Regions from separate parts of the Homo sapiens genome. Here regions 1, 2 and 4 are each linked to region 3. Evidence: promoter capture Hi-C in human tissues and cell types (Jung and others, 2019). All regions are on one chromosome and are shown on one strand. The core of a region is centred on a gene start or on the middle of the fragment in contact, and the rest is flanking DNA. Distances in the headings are between cores, read along the strand shown.

Region 1 (2,798 bases), core at 289-2,788, 1.4 Mb before region 3:
TAGTACTGAGGACACAGAGGTGAATAAAACAGATATAATCCCTGGTCCTACGGCACTTGTGGTTCAAGGCACACAGTACAGTATAGGTCCCAGCTAGAACCCTTTTCTCTGTGAACATGACTTACATTTGGGCTCTACTCAGCTTGAGTAATGTCAACTGAAACAATAGTTACCAAGCTTTCACAGATTAGGAGATTTCAAATAATAATTTAGATTTCTGGATTCTTCTGAAACATTAGAAGATTGGGCAATACTGGGTTCACATTGTTACATGGCAATGACTGGCTGGAGTTGAGTAATGGCTTTCCCTGTTAGACCAGGAATATTCTTTACTTTAGCCCCAGTCTCTGCCACTCCCTATTGTCTTTCACGTGGTACTTGCCTGGCCTTGTAGGCATTTAAATGTATCACTTTTCCAATGAAAAGATGAATGAATCAATTGATGAGTATGTTTTAGTCACAGTAATCACCATACATGAAGAATCGGGACTTTGATCTCCTCCAGTGGGTGGACGGGTAGGAATCTGGCTTCACTCTTGAGGTTGAAGGGTTTTCCTTTATACTTCAATAGCAGTCTTCCCTGGGAGTTATGAACTGTTTCCTTCCCACCCTTGAAATCTAGCCCAGAAGTCAGCCTGTGGGAAGAGACTTCCCAGGTCACTGTGCAGCTGGAGTTGCATCTTGGATGACACCATAGATAGCTCTGGCGGGCACCCATGCATTTATTCAGAAAATATATCTTGAGTGCTTACTTCATGCCCAGCAATGCGTCCAGCAATGCGGTGAGGAGGTGAATCAGACATCATTCCTGTCCTCTAGAGCTCATGGTCTGCATGCTCTAAGGGGCCAAGCAAATGTGTAAATGGACAATTTAATTAAAAATGGCAGGTGCCATAGAAGAGAGAAACTCAGAAGACCCTGGGTGGCTGCAGAAGACCCCTAAAGTAGCCAAGGGAAGGGGCTGTTGGAATAGTTGAGCGAGAGAGGCAGAGATTTTGAATGTAGCTCCCTTTCCACAAGACTCCCAGAGATGAGGCAGTAAGTGGTTCAGCTGACACTTGGCCAAGGCTAATCCTTCCACTAATTGAAGGTCATCTGTATACTTGAAGTTTGCCCCCTGGCATTCCAGAGCAGGATGGATATGCAGCCAACGCTTCTGTGTTTGAGCCCAGAATCAAATCACAAAGCCTTGCTTAAGTCAATCATGGGGCTCCCTCCAAGGCAGCACTCTATTATGTGTTTATGGATGAGACCTAAGAGGGCTGGCAAGGAATCATTCACCCTGCAGAGCGTGCCTTGGGGATGGACTGTAGGAAGGGAGAATTTTATTTTTATTTTTAAAGCCTGTGCTTTGATGTATTTTTTTTTAATGCAGGGTGGGTCTGCATTACTTTACAATAAGCATAGATGGTATAATGAACAGAACCCAGTGCCAATCATATTCTAATGATTCCTCTGAAAATATCCTGAGGAAGTCTTTGGTCCTCAACCCAGCTGAGCTCACTGCTGCATCCTTGGCAACCTGGTACAGGGTAGGTGCCCAGTAAATATTTCTTGAAAGACCTCACATCATTTCATTTAAAGGCAAATTGCAGAGCAGGAGCGCTTGGGTTCAAGTGTCCAAGGGCTCAGGATGCACATCCTAGTTGTATGTCTGTGAGCACAACTGACCTCTCTGAGCCTCAGTTTCCTCATCTTTAAAATGGGCTGTCTCAAGGTGTTGTTATGAGAATAAAACAAGCTCACGCACATGAGATGGGCAGCATATAGTGAGCACCCAATATACACTGATTATTTTTATGGCTTTTAAAACTCTTGTCATATTTTCATACCAATTGTACTGTTGTTCACTTAATACATATATATATATATATATTTTTTTTTTTTTTTGAGACAGAGTCTCACTCTGTCACTCAAGATGGAGTGCAGTGGTGTGATCTCAGCTCACTGCAACCTCAGCCTCCTGGGTTCAAGCGATTTTCCTGCCTCAGCCTCCCGAGTAGCTGGGACCACAGGCATGCGCCACCAAGCCTAGCTGATTTTTTTTGTTTTTGTATTTTTAGTAGAGACGGGGTTCCACCATTTTGGCCAGGCTGGTCTCGAACTCCTGACCTCAAGTGATCCATCCGCCTCAGCCTCCCAAAGTGCTGGGATTACAGGCATGAGCCACCACACCTGGCCTATGTAATATATTTTTAAAAATTTCTATTGACTTGTTTTTCTATTTAGATTGCACAGTATAATTTAGCCTCACTCTAAATAATAATAGTCTTATAATCAGAGGTTTCACATGTCAGTTTTAATTTTTCTAATTTTCTTAAGCCAAACGACTCACAAAAAGTTCATCTGGACACTGTTTAAAGCCGCGTGGGTATCCCCGTAGTGTATCTAATACTCCTACTCCTCGGGAAGTGCAGCCCGGTGCACAACACTTTATAGCTTTTGAACTCCCAGAGTCCAGAATACACTCTCCGTGTTTTTTTTGTTTTTGTTTTTGTTTTTTGTTTTTTTTTCAGCCCGTAGACTCTGTTCCTCCAATGTTCCATCCCTGTGCTAGGAGCTGGGTATGAAGCAGTGAATTAGAGAATCACGTTTTCTGTTCTCCCAAAACTCAGTCGAATGGGGAACAGAGAACAGTTACCGGGTCATTACAGCCCAGTGTGGTCTCAGCTGTGCTGGGGAAAGCGCACAGGAGAAGCCTCACTTTCCCGCCCCCTGGTCGGGGAGGCTTTTTCTTGATGACGTTGGTGGCTCCCTTCAGAGAACACAAATCCCTACTGTATTACCTGCAGTGCAGA
Region 2 (2,700 bases), core at 20-2,519, 1.3 Mb before region 3:
ATCTGTATGCTCTTCTCCATCACCACTGCCACCACCCTAATCCTATGTCAAACCTCTGTAGACTCTTATCTAGACAACTGCAATAACTTCCTACCAGTTTCCCACTTTGTCTTTCTGAAGTCTAGTGGCCAGAGTGAGTTTTACACAATCCTATGAAGCCACTCCCTGCTCTAATCCCAACAAAGACTTCCCATTACACATAGAGTAAGCCCAAACTCCTTGCCATGGGCTTAAGGGCACTAGATGATCTGTGTCTGTCTCCTTCTCTGATAGCTCATATTTCTCTCCCCCTTTACTCCTGCACCCAGTAATAGAGAACAGAAGCTGAGCCAGGCCCTGCCAGGCTGACTCCTAGTTCAGGTCTCCTTCTGCCCCATACCCCTCGTTGGAGTAATAGGTTTCCTCAAATCTCCCTAACTCCCTCTTGGTTATAGAACCTCTGAGAGAGCCAGCATGAGTTGAATTCTTCATTTCTTCTTCTAACTTGGTTTCTGCCTCCAAAGCTCTTTCATGATTTACAGACTCCTAGAATTAATTGTCAGCAACAGCCGGTGTTATTAGGGATTTTTCAATTGGCTCCAGGATTGTGTATTAATTCAACTTTTTTTTTCTCCTTGAGACATTTTATTCAATGACGATAACCCACTGAGTCCACCATTGATCCCTTGATGCTTAATAACGAGGCCAATTTAATAGTAATTAGTTCCAATATTGAATATATTTTCATTAAAAGCAAAAATGATGGGTCAAATTTAGTAAGTGATGAATTATCAGATCCAGACTGTACCAGCTTTGTTTTACAAATGCCTAGTATTCCCCAAACTCTCCAATCTACCACCTTCTCCCTATCCGGGGGCCTTAATTATAATAACAATTATGATGACAATGACCATGATGATAATAATTATTACTGTTGATATTCATTGAGGGCATTTCATGTACCAGGCACCATACAAAGTGTTTTATATGCATTATTTGATTTAAAATGCACAATAATCCTTTTAAGTGGGTTCTATTGTTATCTCCACATTTTGGAGGAGGAAACTGAGTTCCAGAGAAATGAAGGGATTTTTTTTTCTCAGGGACACACAGCTAAAAATCAGCTGGGCCAAGATTCAAACTCAGGCTGATCATAAATCCACATTCTTAGCTCCCAAGCAATACCTCTTACCACTGAAGGGGAGGCTGAGGAGCCACAATTTGTGCTTGAAATTAAACTTGTGAAATCCAATTTACTCTACAATATAATTAAAAATAGACTGTGTTCAATGCAAGGAAATTTAGTGGCTTATGTTGCAAAATATATGGAGTATATGGAGGATTCATCTATGAGGCAAGAACAACACTTGAAATATCATTAATTCTGGAATGAGACCTACCTGGACTTGGAGTCTAATTTTATTTCTTGGTAGCTGCATTATCTTTGACAGGAGACTTGGTTCACATAGAACCTATTTTCTGTCTTCTACTCACAACATCTAACACCACCGTGATATACCCATTTTGTGGGTGGAAGACAGAACAGCTAAGGAAAGAATCCTGTGACTACCACGTTTGGGGTGAGCTGCTACAACTCCTACGGTGGAGGTGGCCACAAAGATGTCACAACAAAAGTAAAAAGTTCACATCTTACAGATCAGGAATTCTCAACCTAGGCGCTATTGACATTTGGGGCCAGATAATTTTTTTTTTTTTTGTGGGAGGCTGTCCCATGCATCATTGTATGTTAACCAGCCTCTCTGGACTCTACACAGTAGATGCCGGTAGCAAACACCCCAGGTGTGACCCCCAGAAATGTCTCCAGACATTGTCAGATATCTCCTGGTGGGCAAAATTGCCCCTGGTTAAGAACCACTGTGATGGATAAAATTCTAACAACAGCAAGTCATGGGCCAGAGATTTCCTACTGGGTTCTAGCATATAATATATCCTGCTTACATAAATGAAAAAAATTTTTTTATGTAAACCCATTTTCAAATCATTTCACATGTATGTGGGCGTTCCCCCCGGTTTTTCCCTATGATATTGAGATTTGTCTTATACACCAGAGGATTTTGCTGTTCAGCAAACATGATGCTTTCTCTCCAATCCTCAGTTTTTTTTCTCCAGAATGATAGGCATGGTAATACCTAGCCTTTAGGATTGCTAGAAGGTCCTATGTCAAGTGGCTAGAACACAAGAAGGGCTCAATAATGCTGGTCACCTCTTCCCCTTGCAGAGGCAGCAATAACTCCTTCCAGAGAAAAAGGTGGGTGATGCAATGGAGTAAAGGCAGCTGGCCAGTGAGGTCTTCGGTTTGTGTTTCAGCCCTGTCACTGCCTTGCAGTGTGACCTTGCATAAGCCACTTAACCTCTCTGTGCCTCACTTGCTCCATCTGTAAAGTTAGGAAGTTGGACTAGAAACCCTCAAAGGCCCTCCAAGTGCTGCACTCTAAGTTCCTGTGAGGCTGGGCATGGCAGCAGTTCCCTGAGCATGCACCAGAATCATCTAAGGAGTGGGCTAAAATGCAGATTCCCAGGTTATAACTCGAGAGTTTCTGATTTAGTAAGTCTGGAATGGATCCCAGAAATCGTCATTTCTAAACAGCCACCCACTGCCACCCCAGGCGATTATGTGGAGGGAGTACCGGGCCCATGTTCTGGGAAACTGTCTTCTCTTCTATTGATACCTTGACAGGGAAATAGTATTAGGAGCTCCCA
Region 3 (2,700 bases), core at 104-2,603:
TGGGGCACGGGAAAGGAGAGGCCATAGACTGAGGGAGGCACTGATACTTATAGAGCCCCTACCTGTTTCATACCCTTCATTCCGATCCATCCTAGGCCAAGCCCATTTTGCCCAGAGGGTCCCCATCTGGATTCAGATAGGTTAAGTGTTTTGCCCAAGGTCACAAAAAAGGTGCAAAGAAAGTGTTTTTCTTTGTGCAACAGGTACAGTCCTTTCCCTTCCAAAAGATAATGGCTGCTCCTGGCTAGAGAAAGTTCAGTCCCGGCAGGCAGGAAGCCCTAGCCACCTAGGCGTCGCGCGGTGGAGGTCACACGCCTGCTCCGGGACTGGACAAACAGCAGGGTTTTAAGGCGCGGCGTCCCCACTCCCAGGCGAGTTTGTGCCAGCAGGGTGTGAAAAGGTCAGGCTCGGGTGGGGGTCAACGAGCCGCTTCCCATCCCGAGGGCCCCACCCGTGAGCCCGGGTGGGCCGCGCCGCCATCGGGGCGGGGACCACGCGGGCCTGCCTGGTAACAGGGGGACTGAGGCTTAATCCCATCAGGGCGCCTCCGCCCTGGGAAGACGAGCGGAGGGGGGGCGCAGGCCAGGCCGAGAGGACGTGTCCGGAGCCTCCGCGTCCGAGGGGCCCCGCGCGCCGCCCCTCTCACGCCCCCCGAACCACCGCGCTGTCCTCCGGGCTCCCCTCGACCAGGGTTCCGTCTCGCTCGCCGCCCTTGCTTCCCACTTCCACCTCCGGGGCCTCCAACCCGCACAAATGTCCAGACCCTAGCAGCTCCAGGCTGAGTAACCCAGATCTCCAGCGATCCCTCAGCTCCTAGCCACGGGATCTCTCTGAATCCATTCCCAAGGCTCAGGCTGGCATGGGAGGAGATTGATCCTCTCGCTCCCAGTCTCGAATCACCCTTCGCCGTCACCCCTGACTGGGGATCCAGTGGGACCCCAGGCCTCCAGCGCCCGATCCCCTCCAGGGATCGACTCCCAAGTCGCCAACCAGGTGGCACGTGATCCATTGGTTGCCCTGTGCGGGATCTTCCCGCGGGATCCACTCTCAAGTCTCGGGAGACGGATTCCCCGGCTCCCAAACCGGGATCCTCCCTCCCTGCAGACCCGGAGTCTGGGGAAATCCTCCGGCTCCCCGCCTCTTCCCCGGCCAACTTTGCCAACTTTTCTCCCGGGGCCTCGGCCGGGCAGAAACTTGGCGGCCCTCGCCAGCCGCCGTCACCCCCAGCTACCTCGTCGGCCGGGGACAGGAGGCGGCCAGCCGGCCCCCACTGCCCGCAGCCGCTGCGCAACCTACCGTGGAGCCACCGCCAGCCCGCGCCGCGCCGCCACCTGCCCGCAGCCCGCGGCACCTGCCCTGGGAGCCCGCAGCCCCGCGCAGCCTAGCCTGCTGGGGGCGGGGCCTCGAGCGGGGACGCGCCCCCGTCACCATGGGAACTGCCGCCGGCCGCGCCTGCGCGGAGGGGAGCAGAGCAGGCAGGACCCGAGTCCGCAGTGGCGCCTGGGCCTGGGACCTCTCCGGCGGGTCAGAGGTCACGACTCGCTTGGACACCCCTGCCGGAAGCGCTCCCGCCCCTCGAGGCCCGACCCCGCTCTGTCCAATTGGGAACTTTGCTCCGGGTACCCTCCCGCGTTCCCTGGATGTTCCCCAGTCACCAGCCAGGATCCCCCGCCACCGGCACCGACCCGCTGCCCAGCCGGCGACCCCGAGAGCCTAATGCAACCCAGGATTTCAGGAGGCGCTCCATAAATGTGGGCCCACTGACTTGCCTGGGCTGCTGGTGCCGGCCCGGGGGCGGGCAAGGTCTGTGCGCGGTGCTGGCGCCTCCTCGCGCCAAGCAAGGGCACTGCACCTGAGAGTTCGCTGGAGCGCCTACTGTGTGCGCATCCTCCTGCCATTATGTTGTGGGTGTGAGTTGTGGGGTAATGGGTACAGGAACTTGTGGACAAGTTGAGAGAATCGTAGGAAGTCGCCTCTGAAAGAGAAAATACCTGTTCTGTTATCCGTTACTCATTTCATTCAGCAGATCTTTATTAAGCACCTATTGCATGCTGGGTGCTGGAGAACCCAGTGGTGGGCAGCTGGCAAAATCCAGGCTGTTGTGCAGCTTACAGATATTCAAACAAATAATTTCACGAGTATATCAAATTGAATCTGTGACATGTGCTCCTATGGGAAATGTACAGAGCATGAATAACTGGAGGACCTAAAATCAATGTGCCTTTATTATAAGCAAGATAGACCTCAATAAAAAAAGAGAAAGAAAAGGACATCACAGGCTGCGCACGGTGGCTTGTAATCCCAGCATTTTGGGAGGCCGAGGCGGGTGGATCACCTGAGGTCATGAGTTTGAGACCAGCCTGGCCAACGTGGTGAAACCTCGTCACTACTAAAAATTACAAAAATTAGCTGGGCGTGGTGGCGGATGCCTGTGATCCCAGCTACTCGGGAGGCTAAGGCAGGAGAATGGCTTGAACCCGGGAGGTGGAGATTGCAGTGAGCCAAGAGCGCGCCACTGCACTCCAGCCTGGACGACAGAGCAAGACTCCATCTCAAAAAAAAAAAAAAGAAAAAGACATCACATTGTGTGGCTTCAGGAGGATTGGTGGGGAGACTTCTTGCCTCATTTTGCTCTTAAATTGTTGGGTGTGTGTAAGAAACAAGGGTAGCTCCTGTTCTCCACACCGTTTGCACTGCAAC
Region 4 (2,700 bases), core at 124-2,623, 1.4 Mb before region 3:
TTTTCTGAAATTTCTTGTCTGTGAATCAGCCTTAATATTCCTCGTCTATGTCATGAGCTCTGGGGATGAGGTGAGGCAGGCAGAAGGTCTGGATTCAAATTCCAGCTTCAGCATTAGCACCTGGGCAAGCTCGGTGATGTCATTTGAATGTTATGTTGTTATATTCCACTTTCATTTTTGGCATCATCATCGTTACCATCACCATCATCACTATCGTCATCATCATCATCACCACCATCATCCTTCTTTGGATTTCTGTTTATGCCAAATGACATCAGATGATTTATGTCAGTGGTTTTCAACTAGGGGCAGTTTTCCTCACAGGTGACATTTGGCAATGTCTGGAAACATATTTTTCCTAACTAGGTGGGTACCATGGGTGAGTGGAGGCCAGGGATGCTGTTAAACATACTACAGTGCACAAGACAGCCCCTCAACCCAAAAAAGTATCTAGTCCAAAATGTCAACAGGGCTAAACTCGAGAAACCATGACTTATATAAATGCACATTGTAAACGGTGTGCAACAGACCATTAAATGCAATTTCTTCTGTTGTTCTGAAATTTTAGCAGTGTCTCCCTAAGCTAAGAACAAGACAATAGGTGCAGTGGATTTCCACTTTCCAAAGAGAGATACTTGGCTGTTGATTGCATTTGGATTCTCCAGATGCAGAGATCAAGCAAACATACAAATGCCTTTTGAAGTCTGGCTTGTCTGGGAGGCCATCCTAGGCAGCACTGGTGGGGAAATGAGACAAGAAGAAGGGAAGGACTCAACGAAGAGGGGATTGATGAGCAGGTTTCACTGTGCATTTTGGGTTCAGTCCTGCAGGAATTTTAGAGATGGTGCAGAACACATCCATAGGGAGAAGGAGCTGGGGTATTTATCCTCCAGTTTCCATCCTTTATTGACTGAGGGATGCTCCTGGATGTGTTGAGTCCCTAGAACTTCTGGCTTGCCCATGTGACCACATGGCATCAGAGAAATGCTGGAGAAGTGGGAAGGGCCTTGCAGTAGGAAGTCATTATGGGCACATGGTGGCAAGTATTGCACGGCTTAGACAGAGTACCAATGGCATCATCTACTAACATCGATGCAGCTATTCCAGTCTGAGCCCTTCTTCCCACCTCTAGCTTATATAAGAGAAGGAAAAGAAGGCACTGGCCATTGAGGAGGCTGGCAGGAAGGACTGCCTTGAGGGGAGTGGTCACTGTGGGGCATCATAGGAGGGAGGGTCGAATGTGTATCACCCTCACATTAAGCCTAGTGAGGAGGGCTTCAAGGGAACTCTTGGTGACTTGGCAGGTGTCTTTCTTTTGTGGCTTGGATAACAGTAGCTGGATTTGATGCTCACCAAAAGAAATGATAAAATCAGACTGGGGATGCCTGCCTGCCTCTGGTCAGAGCAAGGAGAATAAAAGCAGATATTGACAGTGAGCATCCCATCACTGATGACAGTAGGGATATGATCTATGTTTCCTGGGTCTAGTTGTGAACCTTGCAGGCAGAAGCCAACTATAGGTCTCCTTAAAAGTGGCTTCCTACTGAAAGGGTGATAGAACCCCAGCAAAAGGGAAAGTTAAGAGCAGCTGTGCTCAGGAGACTTTCACACATTTAATATCCTATTAAAGACAGAAAAAAAATCAGCATTCTATATATTCTATAACATAACAGTGTAGCCAAGTTAGAGTCTCCTATTCCCTTACCTCCCATGCCCTTTGCAAAATTCCCAGCCAGAGGAGCACAGTTGAGGGAGGGATGAAGTTTCAAAATGAATGATACTTAGGGTTATAAGATTTTCAGACTGGACTGCACTTATTGTGACCAGAAGACCTATGAAAACGCAGCTTTCACCCAGAGGAAAAAAATAATATAGGATGTGCCTGAAGGGTCACTGGGAGAAATAATCAAGTTACTCTCTGCCTCATTCTTCTGAATCTTTTTTGACAGACTGGTTCCAATTATGTACACAGAGTTTGGCAATTTAGTTTTTTCCCCTCAATGCAAAGAGGAGCTTACATTTTCACTTGCTCATCCATGTATTTACCAAGTGCATCTAGCATCCCTGGAATCGGACCTTTGTAAGCAACCGAGATGAAAATGTGTTGAGTTCACTGCAGGGAGAGCCACAGGGCAGAGTGTGGTTTTCCGCTGAGGTCTGAATTGAGATGTCAGCTAGATACGATCCAAGGAGGCGCTAGGAAAACGGGATGGCAGTTTGACTCCAGGATGAAGGGGAGATGGAGAGATGCTGGCAGGCAGGCAGGCTTGGTCTGACTGTGACTGGGAGTGGCAGGATCCCTTCTGGGAGGATCCTGTAGGACCACAAAGCTTCCCAAGACCAGACCCTGCCCACTCTGGCCCTTCTCAGGTGCCAGAGTGAAAGGCTTTCCACAGGCACAAAGTGTGAGCTCCTGGCAGAAGATCTCAGCTCCCATCTCCCCCTCTACATCCACCTCTTTCTTCTTGGTCACTGTCGCAGGCTATCCTCAGACCATCATCACCTTTCTCTTGGGCAGTTGGACAGCACCTCGGTGGTTTCCTGACTTCATCCTCACCTGGCCCTGATACTCCTCCCCTTAGCAGCCAGATGAATCTTTCCAGAAGGTAAATCAGATCTGCTCCCTCAACAGATCAATGAATAAGCAAAATACGGTCTATTTGTGCAGCGGAGTTATTATTCAGCCATAAAAAGGAATGC

Evidence for each region. The method cuts DNA at HindIII sites, captures the fragments that hold promoters and counts their contacts. A contact is called where the count stands out against the background at its distance.
Region 1: a contact is called between a fragment that was not itself captured here and the fragment with the promoter of KIAA1671 in region 3, in 1 of the 25 tissues and cell types used here (mesenchymal stem cells).
Region 2: a fragment that was not itself captured here is called in contact with the fragment with the promoter of KIAA1671 in region 3 in 1 of the 25 tissues and cell types used here (dorsolateral prefrontal cortex).
Region 4: a contact is called between a fragment that was not itself captured here and the fragment with the promoter of KIAA1671 in region 3, in 1 of the 25 tissues and cell types used here (lymphoblastoid cells).

Annotation. Positions count from the first base shown.
Region 1 is chr22:26,360,599-26,363,396 of GRCh38, reverse strand. The region is part of intron 12 of SEZ6L (seizure related 6 homolog like); the gene reads right to left. It overlaps LOC124905096 (a long non-coding RNA gene), which reads left to right and starts at 2,372. Exons shown (of 3, transcript XR_007068038.1): 1 at 2,372-2,798. The HindIII fragment of the contact is 5,861 bases long and covers 1-2,798 here.
Region 2 is chr22:26,221,983-26,224,682 of GRCh38, reverse strand. All of the region lies in intron 1 of SEZ6L (seizure related 6 homolog like), which reads right to left. Among named protein-coding and RNA genes, the nearest start is that of SEZ6L-AS1, 23 kb to the left of the region's middle. The HindIII fragment of the contact is 8,757 bases long and covers 1-2,700 here.
Region 3 is chr22:24,951,369-24,954,068 of GRCh38, reverse strand. KIAA1671 reads right to left here and starts at 1,353. Exons shown (of 13, transcript NM_001145206.2): 1 at 1,297-1,353. RefSeq lists a silencer at 1,287-1,536. The HindIII fragment of the contact is 5,810 bases long and covers 1-2,700 here.
Region 4 is chr22:26,334,460-26,337,159 of GRCh38, reverse strand. All of the region lies in intron 9 of SEZ6L (seizure related 6 homolog like), which reads right to left. Among named protein-coding and RNA genes, the nearest start is that of SEZ6L-AS1, 89 kb to the right of the region's middle. The HindIII fragment of the contact is 3,866 bases long and covers 1-2,700 here.